2 separate regions of the Homo sapiens genome follow, and region 2 is linked to region 1. Evidence: promoter capture Hi-C in 16 types of primary human blood cells and fetal thymus (Javierre and others, 2016). All regions are on one chromosome and are shown on one strand. The core of a region is centred on a gene start or on the middle of the fragment in contact, and the rest is flanking DNA. Distances in the headings are between cores, read along the strand shown. Region 1 holds the start of CKMT2 (creatine kinase, mitochondrial 2). Region 2 overlaps MSH3 (mutS homolog 3).

Region 1 (6,806 bases), core at 2,982-5,481:
TGCAATACAGGGATTATTCCCAATAAAATTAACTTTTATTTAAAAGCAAGAGATTTTACTTAGCTTTTTTTTTTCAAAGTTTGATTTTATCCCCTTGAAAAAAAATCTCTTCACTTTAAAGTATAAAGGTTTTTAAAAATCCAATTGCAAAATGTATTATTTTTACAACTATCGAAAAGGCATAAAAGAGAACATACTATTTATGGCTGAAGGGTATAGCCAGGCTAATGTGCACAGAGGGAATCAATAAATAAAACTCTTTTTCATTTCAGTAAGAAATCAGATTGTAAGTTTAATGGCTCCATTATAGATACCACCGTGTAATAGAAGACTTAAGTCAATGAAATCTAATCAGTGTGTCATTTCTCAGCGGCCATTGGTGACTTAAAATTAAGATGAGGCAGAGCCAAAATGGAAAACAGTCATTTTGTTGTAGGTATAAACACATGAACGATTCAGAAAATTATTCATCTCAGCTGCCATGCAGCATGACATTAACATTAGGATTGATAGCACTAGTCTGATCTGCTCAAGGAAAATAATAGTTCTATTATACTTAATGATGTTGGTTTTTACACAGCTCATTTCATTTTTCACTAGAAAGCCAGTTATGAAAGAGAGCTGGCCTAGGCATCCCGGCCCTGAGTCCTAGGCCCAGTCTCCAACTGGAAAACCTTAGGCTGGTGTTTACACATCCCTGAGCCTCAGTTTCCTCATCTGCAAAACGGTGTGAATAGTAATCCCTGTGCTGCTTATCTCACAGGGCTATTGTGAGGACCAAATGGATTAGACTGTAAACTGCAAAGTGCTGTCCGCACATGAGGTCATCTGATTACTGTCCTCAGATCTCTTTTGTAGAGGATTTCAATGTATTTCTTTATCATTTGAGTGTGTGTGTGATGGACGAATATGTGTGTGAGTTTGAGAAGCATATCGTTCGTGTCCAGTTACTTTGCAAATTTGTGGACATTTGTGATTGGACAGAGGGGTTTGTGCTGTGGCCTAACACTTGCCAAGTGAGGTGTAGGTTATGCCTATATGCAAATTAAACTTCACCTTTCTTGAATATTCAGAAATCTCACTGGTTTCTTCATTTAACTCTTTTTCCCCCCATTTTTCTACATTGTCAACTTAAAACCATGAAATGTATACATTTAGAAAAAATAGAACTTAATTTCTTATAAAGGGTTACAATCTGCAGGCTGGAGCCTCTGGCCAAAGCCAAAAGCAAGCACTTCAGATAAAAAAGGGAGAGGCTGAGATTTATGCCCAACAAGATGAGCCTTACATATACATTTAGTAGGTTATAGGATAATCTTATGAATATTTATGAGAGGCCCTAATGCATGCATAGCCAGTAATCATATATGTTACATGTTACATACAACCCATGTTCACTTTGGGATGGAGACTTAAAATGTAGTAAAATTGGGCTCTATATGTCAAAAGATGGAACACAGGGCACAAAGACGCTTGGTGTGCAATCTCTGTAAACCGGCCAGAACCGGCTGTGGTCTGTGGTCAGTTATGAGGATGGAGTGCTTTGTAAGGCTGAACACTTGTCAGGGGGAAACTGCGTTGAGGGAAGGGGGGGTTCGCCACGTCAGGTTGTCTGTTGAAGTTGAGGAAGAAATCTTCCAGACATAGTTTTTCAGTAACTGGTTTTAGTTTAATTTTAGGAAAGAAAGTCTTGAGGCAGTTATCGAGGTGGGAGAGCGTTGGGTGTGACTGACCTCTTGCCTTGCCAAAGCTGTAGAATCTGGTTTTTAATGTTTCCTGGGGTCTCTTTTTACCACAATGAGTCTGTTTTGTTTTGCTTGGGGGCCTAGGGGCTTTATTTTTATTTTACATCTTCTTCATAGCAGTGAACTCCTTCAGATATATTATTTACTTCTAAATATTACTTCTAAAGTTCAGGGAGAAAAACAGTTTAGAAGAGGCCCTAAAATTCAAAGAATTTGGGGAAAGCTTTGAAATGATACGAAGGATCAACTAATCACACTTTCTTTGCAGTGCTTAGATTCTTCCTGTGACATCCCCAGCCTATATTTGATACCTCCAGGCACAGAGAACTCACTACTACCTGGAACAGCTCAGTCCATTGCACAGCAGCTCAACGCTCCTGAATGGGTGGTGGAGAGAGGAGAAGCCGCCAGGGTAGAGTCCTGGCCTAATAGTCACCAGGCTCCACCTAGGAGGGGCTTCTGAAATAAGACTCCTGTCTACCCCTAAAATAACTGCAGTGGTTATATGGATTACTATATATGAAAATACTTTAACTTCTATGAAGTTGTGGCAACATTTAGAGCTGATGGAATTAAGTTACAGTTGCTGGACACAAGAATAGACTAAGGAAAGGGGTCCCTCCTGCCCAATTCTGAAATGAGCAATCCAGGCTGGTGCGACAGAGGAACCCAGGTTCCTTTCATCCTATTACTTGCTCATCCCACAAGGCGTCATCCTTGCCTTCGAGGTCAAATCTGGGGCCTGCTCTAGCCACACTCCTGCTGGACTCAGGAACAGAAAAGAGAATAAGTCCAGGACATTTTCCTTTAAAGCAAATGATATGGCAGTCGCACACTTCAATTCTGTTCCTGCCCTTATGGCAGAAGCCAGCCACAGGGCAGCCTGGTGTGGCTAGAGCCCCAGAGCTTCAAAAGGAGTTGGTAACGATGAGAAGGGAATAGATGCCATGTGACAGGGATGGCATTTGAAAGATTTCCAGAAAGCCAGAATTTCTACTGTGAGTCCCTTGTAGAGATTTCATCCCCATCACACCACCTTTATAATAAGCTTGAAGAGGACCAGTCCCCCAAAAGAAGGGTGGTACCCTCTTTTCTCAACAATGACCCAATTTTTCTTCTGACCTTACTAACATAAACATTTACTCTATAAAATATAAGGTGTTGAGGTCGGGTGAGTGGAGGGGGCCCTAAATGTTGATTAGGCAATTGGGGAGGAAAAGGAGGTTTTTGCTATAACTGCCATTCTTTAAATCTACAATTCCATGCTCTTTAAAAGCCTTATAATTTTCTGGATCTGGGAGCTGGGCTATTTCAGGGTCAATGGATTTATTTCAGTTGGTGCCTGAACTGACTTGAAACAAGTGTGTGTGGAAAAGAGCTATTTTGAGAAGGAATAAACCGAGACTGCCCTGATGATAGAATATGCAAGCTGGTGGGTCTTGACTCCTTAAAGGATTATGAAATTAATTTGATTGGTCCCAATCTTTATATAACCACCCCAATCAGGAAACTTCCCATCCCGCCAAAAGGCCCCCTCACGTGCTCTCCCTGTCAGTACCCCATGCAAAGGTAAAATAGATGATATTTTTAAACATGGGTCGTGTTTAAAAGAAATGGAAACTCCTTCAGAGAATGAAGGAGAACCACACTGGGTAGAAGGTTATTCCTGGGGCTCCACCCCTTGCTCCATCAAGTCCTCTGAGCATGAGCTGGGCTCTGAGAAGGAAGAGACAGGAACCAATTGGTCATGTCCACGTGGCCTCAGAAGCTGAGTACGTGACGGTCACCAGATGCCTAGGCAGGCTCCCTTGAAATGGCAGGGCTGCTGTCCAAAATCCTGCTGGGTCATTGCTATTTACAGGCAGCCTTCCCGGCGTGCGGTGGATATCCCAAGCGGGGCTATTTTTAAGCAGGGCTATGGCCTGCCGTGGGTTAAGCTGGTGTGGACAGAAAGCGAGATGATCTAGCCATCTACTGCAGGGGGCCTGATCTTGAACAGAAACCTGACTGTAATTGTCCCTGGATCCAGGTCCCAGACAAAGACGCTGGAAGGAGGTCCCTCCAGCCCCTGGCTCAGGGCCCGGTCAGCTGCTGGAGCCAGGCAGCTTGAGACATCCTCCTCTCCGACCTTGGCTTGAGGGGTTCATCCTCCAGAGCTCACCAGGGCCCCAAGGCTGGTACACCTGAGAGAAGAGAGAAACAAATCCCCCAACAGATGTGCAATTTCACCTGCTGGCCCTTCCATTCTGAGATCCAGAGCCCTGGCAAAGGAGCCTCCAGGACCAGGCCTGGGAAGCAAGACTGGCTCCGCCTTTTACGTTTCAGAGAAAGGGCAGGTGCTATAAAGGGCCCAGCGCCCACGGGCCTGCCTTCAAGGGTACAGCTGTGGGGGCCGGTGCGCCCGGAGGTCTACGCTGGGATTGGTGAGGTCCTCTGGCCCCGCCCCGCCAGGGAGGATTTCCAGGCCGGCCCGACCAGCTCGCCCTGCATACACTTCTTGGCTGTGTGCGCTCAGCAGGACGTGGGAGGCTCCGGCTTCAAGGTCGGTGAGTCCGTGAAACTCTGCTTTATTCCTCCAAAGAGGGGTCATGGCTAGAGCCAGTGTGAAGGGCCTTGGAGGAGTGGATGCCGGGCTGTAGACGGGGACCCCGTTAGGACGCTGACTGCGAGGAGGCAATGGTGACTCGCTAAAGCCAGCAGAGCTCCCGCCCTTGGCCGAAGCGACCCCTCCTCCCTGCACACAGGTGGGGGCAGCTCAGCACCAGGAGCAGAACAAATCAGCACGCTGCCTGCAGGGCCTCTTTTTGGTAGTGAATCAGGAATTTTTCTCGATGGAAAAAAAAATCTAAAGGCTGTATTTTGACGCTAAGTTTGGGACAACTTTAAACTTAAAGTGTCTTTCCCTTGTAATTCACAGAGTCTAATCCACTCATTTCTGGGAATGTTTTTCCCCAGCAGTCTCAGTCTCAAAAGACATGTAAATCAGTGACTTGGGATGAACTAACTAGAAAATTAAAATTTTGAGAAGCTATTTGCTCATAAGCCCAATAGCCAGGCCCAGTTTAAACGGGCAAATAGTATTGCTAGAGATTCAGTTTTGCCGTCACTAATACTAACACATTGATAATGAGACAAGTAACCGTCTCCCCTCCCCACCATCCTTACCTTTCCCACCGGAGGTTAATTAAAAAAAAAAAAAAAAAAAAAAAAACCTATGGAATTGGCCCCACGTGTTTCACCTGGGCAGAGGCCTGTTCTTCACTAGCTTGCTTGCTTGGTTGGTTGTCCCGGGGTTAAAATCAGTCCTGTTCTTGCCCCTAGAGTGGTCTGCCTTCAAATGCTCTCCTCCGAATGTGAGGAAGAGTGACATTTGACAAACAGACCAAAACCTTTAGGTCTCCTCAGTGCTGCCCTTTAGACCTTCCAGAAAGTGTTGCCAGGCTCGTGACCCCTCACAGTGTCAGCTGAGTCAAGTGAGGGGCAGTTAGTGGCCCTCAGGACAAGGTTACGCTAGGTACACCAGTGTGCTGTTTCCAGAAGGGCTGCTTTTCCTGTCTACGGCTCTCACATTTTCTCTGTTCTGAACTCGTGTCCTTGGTCTGTTCTCTCTGTCCTCTCATAGAGGCGAGCATGGCCACAGCATGTGGCCAGAGACTTCCTGACAGGCAGGCTCTTCCGGGAGGCTCTTGGCCTTGTTTGGCGGTCTGAGCACTTCACTTCCTCTGCATTGATAGGCACCTTTTCCAAAGACCCCAGACTTTGGAGTTAATCACGCCTGTGGGTTAAGGCACTGTCACAGCAAAGCACAGGAGTGCCACATGCACCCCATGGACTCTGCCAGCCTCATGACCAAATCATATCATTAGGAAATGGGCCATAGGCAGGTCAGTTTTCCTAAGGAAACTGTGGGTTGGGTCGGGGGGAGTACCATACAGAATGGGGAGTCCTGGGGTTTCAGACACAGGAGGGAGACTGACTTTGCCCCTAGCTCAGAGGCCCTGGGCCTCCATCTCTGCCATAGCCTACAGCAGGCTCCATTTGTCTTCCCAAAGGAAGCCACGTAGAGTCTGTGTCAAGCATTCTGGGAGCTCCTGCCCACAGAGCCAGGAATCCAGCAGCAACCCATGCTGAAGGTGACTGCTGGAGGTCACACTAACCCTTGCCAGGAAGCCTCAGAGACTCCCTCCCTTGGGCGGGGAAGAAGGCAGCCCACTTCACAGCACTTCAAAGGACTAGATGGCTCCTAGCTTCCTGTTTTCTTGAAAACAATTTACCCTTGAGGGACAAAGTCTGGTAACGGTCCCATGCCTTCATCACAGGAGGCCTAGGAAAGGCCTCTGTTTTACAGAGTAGGATTCTAAATATCTCCTTCCTGCCTAGGACTGTCTATTTGCTGAGTAGAACAGTAATGCCAAGAGTGCCCATTAAGGTTGGCTGCGTACTAAGTGGTTTTGAGGTAACGCACACCCTTTGCTATCTTAGAACTGGGAGGAGACAGGCATTTTCTGCGGCCTAGGAGCCTGGCATCGTGAGAATTTGTTCAGAGTGTTCTGTGGAGCTGGTCCAAGCCCAAGGACATCCTCTGTTTTGGGGTGGCTCTCTGGATGGAAAGCTGACACGTGGTCCTCCTCCTGCCCTTCCACCTGCCCTCTGGCTGAGGAGTTCAGACACATGGACGCTGTGAATGGCTGGACCAGAAATAAATCTGAGTCAGCAGAAAGGCAGACATGGTCCATCCGGGATGCCCAGGAAGAGCAGGGGGCTCGGGCTGGAGGCAGTGACAGAACCCAAGGCCTCCTCTTCACATTCTAGGATGTCACAGAACCAGAGAAGAGCATTAAGACCAGGATCTGAACTCCCAGTATACCTGCCTGGGACCAAGAAATGTACAGCTTGTGGCCACTTAACAAAAGGGCTTGATGTAGCTGTCGTTGTTTTTTTAATGCGGAGGGCAGTGTAGGAACAAACAGGATATTATTGCTTTTGGCTCTGTCTGGCTGTGCTCTTGCACCTCCCCATCGCTCCAAATCTCCCTGGCTTGGAGCCCAGGTATTCTGCCAA
Region 2 (6,806 bases), core at 2,682-5,181, 520 kb before region 1:
TTTCTTTTTTCTTTTTTTGAGACACAGTCTCTGTCACCCAGGCTGGAGTGTGGTGGCAGGATCTTGATTCACTTCAACCTCCGCCTCCTGGGTTCTAGCGATTTTCCTGCCTCACCGTCTCGAATAGCTGGGATTACAGGCGCCCACTACCATGTCTGGCTAATTTTTGTATTTTCAGTAGAGACAGGGTTTCACCATGTTGGCCAGGCTGGTCTCAAACTCCTGACTTCAACTGATCTACCCTCCTTGGCCTCCCAAAGTGCTGGGATTACAGGTGTGAGCCATGGCACTGGACCCTCTTTTTCTTTTTTTTCAGAAGTTATTGTATTTATCACATAATAGAAATAAAGGGTGGGATGGGAGCTCTAGAAATCTACCATTTCAGCTTCTTCCTTAGTAGACCCACATTAGCGATGAATATAAAATAGATATGTGTGTGTGTGTGTGTGTGTGTGTGTGTGTGTGTACCCTGAGCTAATGGAATTTGTGGAACATTTGGTAAAGCTCATAAATATTGCACAACTGGTACAATCTTAAGTAATCAATTCTAAGTTTTTAGGGCCGGGTGCGGTGGTGGCTTACGCCTGTAATCCCAGCACTTTGGGAGGCCAAGGTGGGCGGATCACGAGGTCAGGAGATCGAGACCATCCTGGCTAACATGGTGAAACTCCGTCTCTACTAAAAATACAAAAAATTAGCCTAGCGCAGTGGCGGGTGCCTGTAGTCCCAGCTACTCCGGAGGCTGAGGCAGGAGAATGGTGTGAACCCGGGAGGCGGAGCTTGCAGTGAGCTGAGATCACGTGAGATCGCGCCACTGCACTCCAGCCTGGGCGACAGAGTGAAACTCCGTCTCAAAAAAAGAAAAAAAGAGTTTTTAACAACTTTTGTTAATTTTTCTTATGTTTAATAATAATTATAGATAAGCTTTTCTTTACCTTTGGTTTTCTCATATTTGAGGACTGCAATTTAAATGATCTTCAGGAACTTCTTTTCTTCTTGTATTTTGTGAAATGAAATGCTTTTAAAGGCATTTCAGGCATCAGAGGTAGATGAGGTGGTATTTTGGGCAGTGGCAGTTGTTTCTGAAATCACACATTAGTAGCTTTTCCTATCCTTTATCTTCTGTTCCCCTGGAGTGAAAAAGGTGCTGTTGGAGGCAAAATTTGTGGCTACTGAAAATATTCCTTAATGCTGGTAGCTTCTTGACTTCGTGCCTTTCTTACCCAATTACATCTATTCTAAAGCTGTCCCACTTCTTTTCCTTTGAGCACATGACTACTGCTATCTATCTCCTATTCTTAACCAGCATTAATTACACTGTGTATTAGATACTGTTTTAAAGGCTTTATGTTTGTTGACCGACTTAATCCTCATAAACACCCTTGTGAGGTTGCTGCTGTTATTTTATTACGGGTTTTATAGATGAGGAGACTGAGGCTCAGAGATGTTAAGTAGCTTGTCTAGGTTATACAATTACTAAGTGGCAAAACTGGAAGTTGATACAGACTTCCTGGCTCTAAAGCACACTATGTCATACAGCCTCTCAGGAAAAACACAGAAGGGAGCAGCTATTCCCTTCCTTCACCTTTACTTTTGACTGCAAAAGGGGTAATATTTTATAGCACAATTAAAATTATTTTGGTTAATATTTTATGAAATTTCTTTCCCTTATAATGCATATTACAGTCTGAATTTCTCTCTGGTGGTAAAGTTTCTGACAAAGCATCTGTGCTTAAAACAAAGCAGCTTTATTTATGAAGGTATTTCTTTACAAACCACAGCCCTGGTATCCAGCAGAAAGCATGGGTTGTCTTTACATGTGGTTATTCTTCTGGGAAAGCATCTTAGAGGAGGTGAGCCTTGACCTGCTTGTTAACTGAGAATATGTGCACAGGTCTGGGGTATAGTATGTGTAGATTCGTGGTAAAAAGACTTGGGATTGTGAGGGGCTGAAAGATTACGAAAGGATAGGGGTTTTAAAATATTATTACTAAGGAGTTCTGTCCTTAGAAAAGATTTCTAGGATCAAGAACCAAGAGCTGGACGATGATGACAACAGGCAGAAATGAGTGGCTTCTCTCAGCCCTTGACTTCTCTGCCATTCCCTCCCCCTTCGAGTGTTCCCCTTTCCTTTGGTTTCCAAGTTGCACGCTGATCCTCTTAGTGTTTTTAACCTCATTGCAGACAGAAGTACTTTCCCATCAGGTTTGCCAAGACAGACTAGAATTTTTTTGTTAGAATTTTACCTTTAAAAACAAAACCAAAACCAACCATTACAAAAGAAGCAAAGGTATAATCAAAAGTGTAGAAAAAACTAGAAAAAAAGTTTTAGAACAACACGAGTTTACCTAGTATAGACTTTCTGCCTTATGGTAATACCTCCTGTCTCTCTTAGCCTTTTGAACAGCCCAGCTCTCATTGTGCTAGCCTTGAGTCTGAGGCCCCATGGAGTTCCCATAGTGGGGAAATTCTCAATCCTCCCTTGCTCCCAAACAGGCCTCTCCTTTGCGGATAGGTCCTGGTGTGTTTCTTCACCTCAGGCCTCTTTAAGCCTGAAGAAGCGTGGGCCCTACATCTGCTTTTAGTTTTCAGTCCCTTGTGGTAAGTTGGCTAAGGCCCTTTCGCCTCTGTTGGTAAGGAGGGGTTTTTTGGGCCTCCAGAACCTCCCACAGGTGCTGTGTCTTCCTGTTGGCTCATTCCGAGGAGGACTCACCAGCTGACTGTCAAACTGGGTCTTCCTCACCTTGGTTCACTGTTGGCCATGTGGACTTCAGTAGGGGCTGCCATCCTTCTAAGAAGCTATGCGATTGTGTCTATTTCCTTCTCTGGACAGCAGGAGACCCCTTTTTGAAGACAGCACATTTTCTTTTTTTCTTCTTTTTTTTCTTTTTTTTGACATGGTGTCTCATTCTGTTGCCCAGGCTGGAGTACAATGGTGTCATCTCGGCTCACTGCAACCTCCGCCTCCTGGGTTCAAGCGATTCTCCTGCCTTAGCCCCCTGAGTGGCTGGGACTACAGGCCTGCACCACCATACCCAGCTATTTTTGTATTTTTAGTAGAGACAGGGTTTCACCATGTGGGCCAGGCTCGTGTTGAACTCCTGACCTCAAGTGATCCACCTGTCTCGGCCTCCCACAGTGCTGGGATTACAGGTGTGAGCCACCACGCCCGGCCAGCACTACACTTTCTAATGAGTTTTTATTGAAAAAAATTTTAGTTGAAAATGAAGCTGTTGGCTCGTAAGTGAAAAGCTTGAAGGCAGGCTGGAATCAGGCATGGCTGGAATTGGGCATGGCTGGTTGTAGGGGCTCTGCTCTTTCCTCTCCTCCTGTGATGGCTGCCTCCTGGTGTTCCACAAGGTGGCAGGATGCTCCAGTGCTCTGTCCTGACTCCCAGCCTCCAGGGTTCTAGTCCAGGGAAGAGGACCAGCATCTCCTTCTGGGAGCTCCTGTATAAATCCTGTAATCCATTTTTTCTCTTCTTTCTCTTTTCTAATATGCCATTTTATTTTTTAATAAGTTGTATATTTTAGTTCAAAAAATGGAAAGTATTTTAAAAAGATTATGAGGTAAAGAGTTTCTTCCATCCTGTCCCTTTTACTATTATAAAAACACCCTTCATTGTCCTGTTTTAATGGTTTTTATTCGAATTTTATTTTTCCTGGTAATAAGATTTGATCTCATACTTTCTTTTTATTTGTATTCACCTAATATATACCTCTAGGCAGTTGTTGTTTTTCAGCCATCTTTTTAATTTGTAACCTTTCTGAATTACTTTGTTTTGGATTGCACTCCTATTTGTAGCATAGAATTTTGGGGTTTTTTTCCCCTCTGTGATCCAATCTGAATTTAATTTTCTTTTAATAGGTGAATTTAGCCCTTTAATATGTCAGATATATTTGATATTAGTTTATACTATTTTGTGTTATATTTTCTATTTTTATATCTTTTAAATAATCTTTCACGATGTGATCTGTTTTCTTTGCATCTTTTTTTTTTGTTGGTTTTGTCCTGGTGGTTGGTTTTAGAATTATAATTTCAAATAATGCCCTTAGTCTTCTAAGAAAGTGGTGGTTGTTCCCTACTGTGAGCACTGATAAAATTAATGAGTTTCATAGTAATTCTAATATGGAGATATTAAAGCCAGGTTACCTTGTCTGTCCTACTCAGTCAAGAACCCTGTTTCATTCTGTCTTCAGAGGAGAGAATGAATTACTCGGCTTGGAACTCATCAGTGCTATTATTACCAATGAGTTCACTGTCAGAGGGGGCCTTGTAAGTTTTCCCAGAGGATACTGTCCACCTTTAACAAGGCTCTTTTTGTCTATGAGTTTCTAAAGTCGGTATAGATCATGCAATTGGTAAGCTGACATTTGTTTGTTCACAGTTGAACATTAGTTCAGAGTCTCTGTTGGTGGTCTGTTATTTGATGCCAGAGAGTCACCAGTTTTATTTCCAAGCAGACATTAAAAGATATTATTGGTTCTGAAGTTCCCTTGTTTTAATGTGGGCTCAACACTTGCTGAGAGAGCATTTAGTTTTTCAAAAGCAATATGGTAGGCAACAGAGAGGCATGTTACATGTGAAAAGGATTTCTTTTTTTTAAAATTAGAAGCTTTAATTTAACCGTCTAGCTTGGCATGCCCTGTGTAATGACTGAGAGACCGAGATGACTGTCTTGTTGTGAGTCCCACCAACAAGGACAGAAGGGAGGTTGCCACCTTGGGAGGAGCACATCTTCTGTTCATGCTCCTCTCCATTCAGGAGGCTTCAGCCCCACAGCACAAATAGCCTCTGTAGCGGTCAAGGGAATGTGGTTTTATAATTTTTTAGATCTGGGTCAATTATATAATCATAGATAACTTAATTTTTTTGATGCAGTGGTATTTACTGTCCACCTCTAATAAAGCAGGTGAATCATAGACTACCATTGGATACATGTCTTTGGAGCAGATTTCCATCCATTTTTACTCCAGTCCTATGGTGGCTACCGGTATTGTTCTTGTCGCCTGCTATTCTTAAGTCTGCAGTTTGCCTGTGACTCACCCCAGGAAACCTGTTGAAAATGCTCGCTCTCCTCTAACTTCCTGCTGAATTCAGATTTAGCACCTTTCGGGTGGGAATCTGTACTTCTTTGCAGGTGACTCTGATGCCGGTGTCCCACAGACTACAGTTTGAGGAAATCAAGACTGACAGTTCTGCAAGGTTTATTACCCTTTAATTTTTCAAAAAATACCTTCAGCAACAGAGAGGCATGTTACATATGAAAAGGTTAAAGTAGAAATTTTCCTAAAATCTATGTGACAGAATTCTGGTAGGATGCTAGGCATGTGTGCAGAATTTCAAATAGACTTTTTTTTTTTTTTTTTTTTTTTGAGATGGAGTCTCACTCTGTCACCCAGGCTAGAGTGTGGTGGTGCAATCTTGGCTCACTGTAACCTCCGCCTCCCGGGTTCAAGCGATTCTCCTGCCTCAGCCTCCCGAGTAGCTAGGATTATAGGTGCCCACCATCACACTCGGCTCATTTTTGTATTTTTAGTAGAGACAGGGTTTCACCATGTTGGCCAGGTAGGTCTGGAACTCCTGACCTCAGGTGATCCGCCCTCCTGAGCCTCCCAAAGTGCTGAGATTACAGGTATGAGCCACCACGTCTGGCCCAAATAGACTTTTGTTTCAGAGATACAGTGATTTGAATTTATCATAACGTTCTTTAATTAAGAAATCCAGGAAAATAGAGATAGGAGATTTTATAACTTTAACCAGTTTGAAAAAATATTTATGTGAAGATGGTTTAATATACAGATTGCAGAACGATGAATTTAACATTCTTGTAAAGCTTCCAGGAAAGCCTCAAGGATAAGTGACAAGTCCATTTTTATCAAACTTAATGGGTTTCTAAATCCTTATCTGCTTATCAAACAAAATTTTAATTAGAACTGTAATTGAGTAACCAGCTGCCTCTTGTGTTCACTCTAGGAACTTGTCTAAAAACATTGTGGAGCTCATGTAAGGTCATTCGTTTTTGAGTTGCTAAATAAACTTTATTGCAGACTTCTAAAAATCCAGGTATTGAGGAAGTCTACAGGAAGATAAAAATTGATAAGAACTTTGCAGTAGTTAGTCCGATACTCTCTCTCTCTAGTGGATTAAGGTAGAAAAATCCTTCTTCAGCACCACAGATGGGAGAATATCCTCCCTCTTAGGTTTCTTCCTGAATCAGCTTATGCCTGCCTAGGCTTGTAGTAGAACAGATAAAGCCTTTGGACCTAGCTACTCTTGGTTTGAATATCTGTTAATCTGTTATCTCTTCATTACTTTGGACATTGTACTTAATGTCTCAAGTTCAATTTACTCATTTTTAAAATGGGAATAATGCCGCCCACAGCAAGGAGAGCCGTAGTTCTGGAACTTGTACTCATTCATTCCTTTATTCAGCACTACTTTATAGGTTGAGTACCTGTTTTATACTAGGCACTGTTCCAGGCATTGAATACAGCAGAAATAACACTGACAAAAGTTCCCATCCTCATGGATCCTAGTGAGCAGAGCCATTTCACACCAGGTGATCGGGGAAAGTTTCACTGAGATGATGACTTGAATGGAGACCTGAGGAAGGTGAGGGAGTCAGATCACCATAAAAAATTACTTTTTAACATTATTATTATTTTTCTTTACTATTTTCTGCTTAATCCTACTAGAAAGTAAGCTCTATGACAGTGGTGGGTGGGGGGTGGTATTTGTTTTGTTAGAGAATTTTAGATGTGCTCTGTTGTATTAGTTTGTTCTTGCACTGCTATAAAGAACTA

What was found. Contacts are between HindIII fragments. The CHiCAGO score rates a contact against its expected background, and 5 or more counts as called.
Region 2: a fragment that was not itself captured here is called in contact with the fragment with the promoter of CKMT2 in region 1 in 2 of 17 cell types (endothelial precursors and M1 macrophages); the score reaches 5.6 in endothelial precursors.

The regions. Positions count from the first base shown.
Region 1 is chr5:81,229,091-81,235,896 of GRCh38, forward strand. It overlaps CKMT2 (creatine kinase, mitochondrial 2), which reads left to right and starts at 4,232. Exons shown (of 10, transcript NM_001099735.2): 1 at 4,232-4,287. RASGRF2 (Ras protein specific guanine nucleotide releasing factor 2) reads left to right here. Exons shown (of 27, transcript NM_006909.3): 27 at 1-1,072. The HindIII fragment of the contact is 4,095 bases long and covers 2,792-6,806 here.
Region 2 is chr5:80,708,779-80,715,584 of GRCh38, forward strand. All of the region lies in intron 8 of MSH3 (mutS homolog 3), which reads left to right. Among named protein-coding and RNA genes, the nearest start is that of DHFR, 57 kb to the left of the region's middle. The HindIII fragment of the contact is 1,363 bases long and covers 3,251-4,613 here.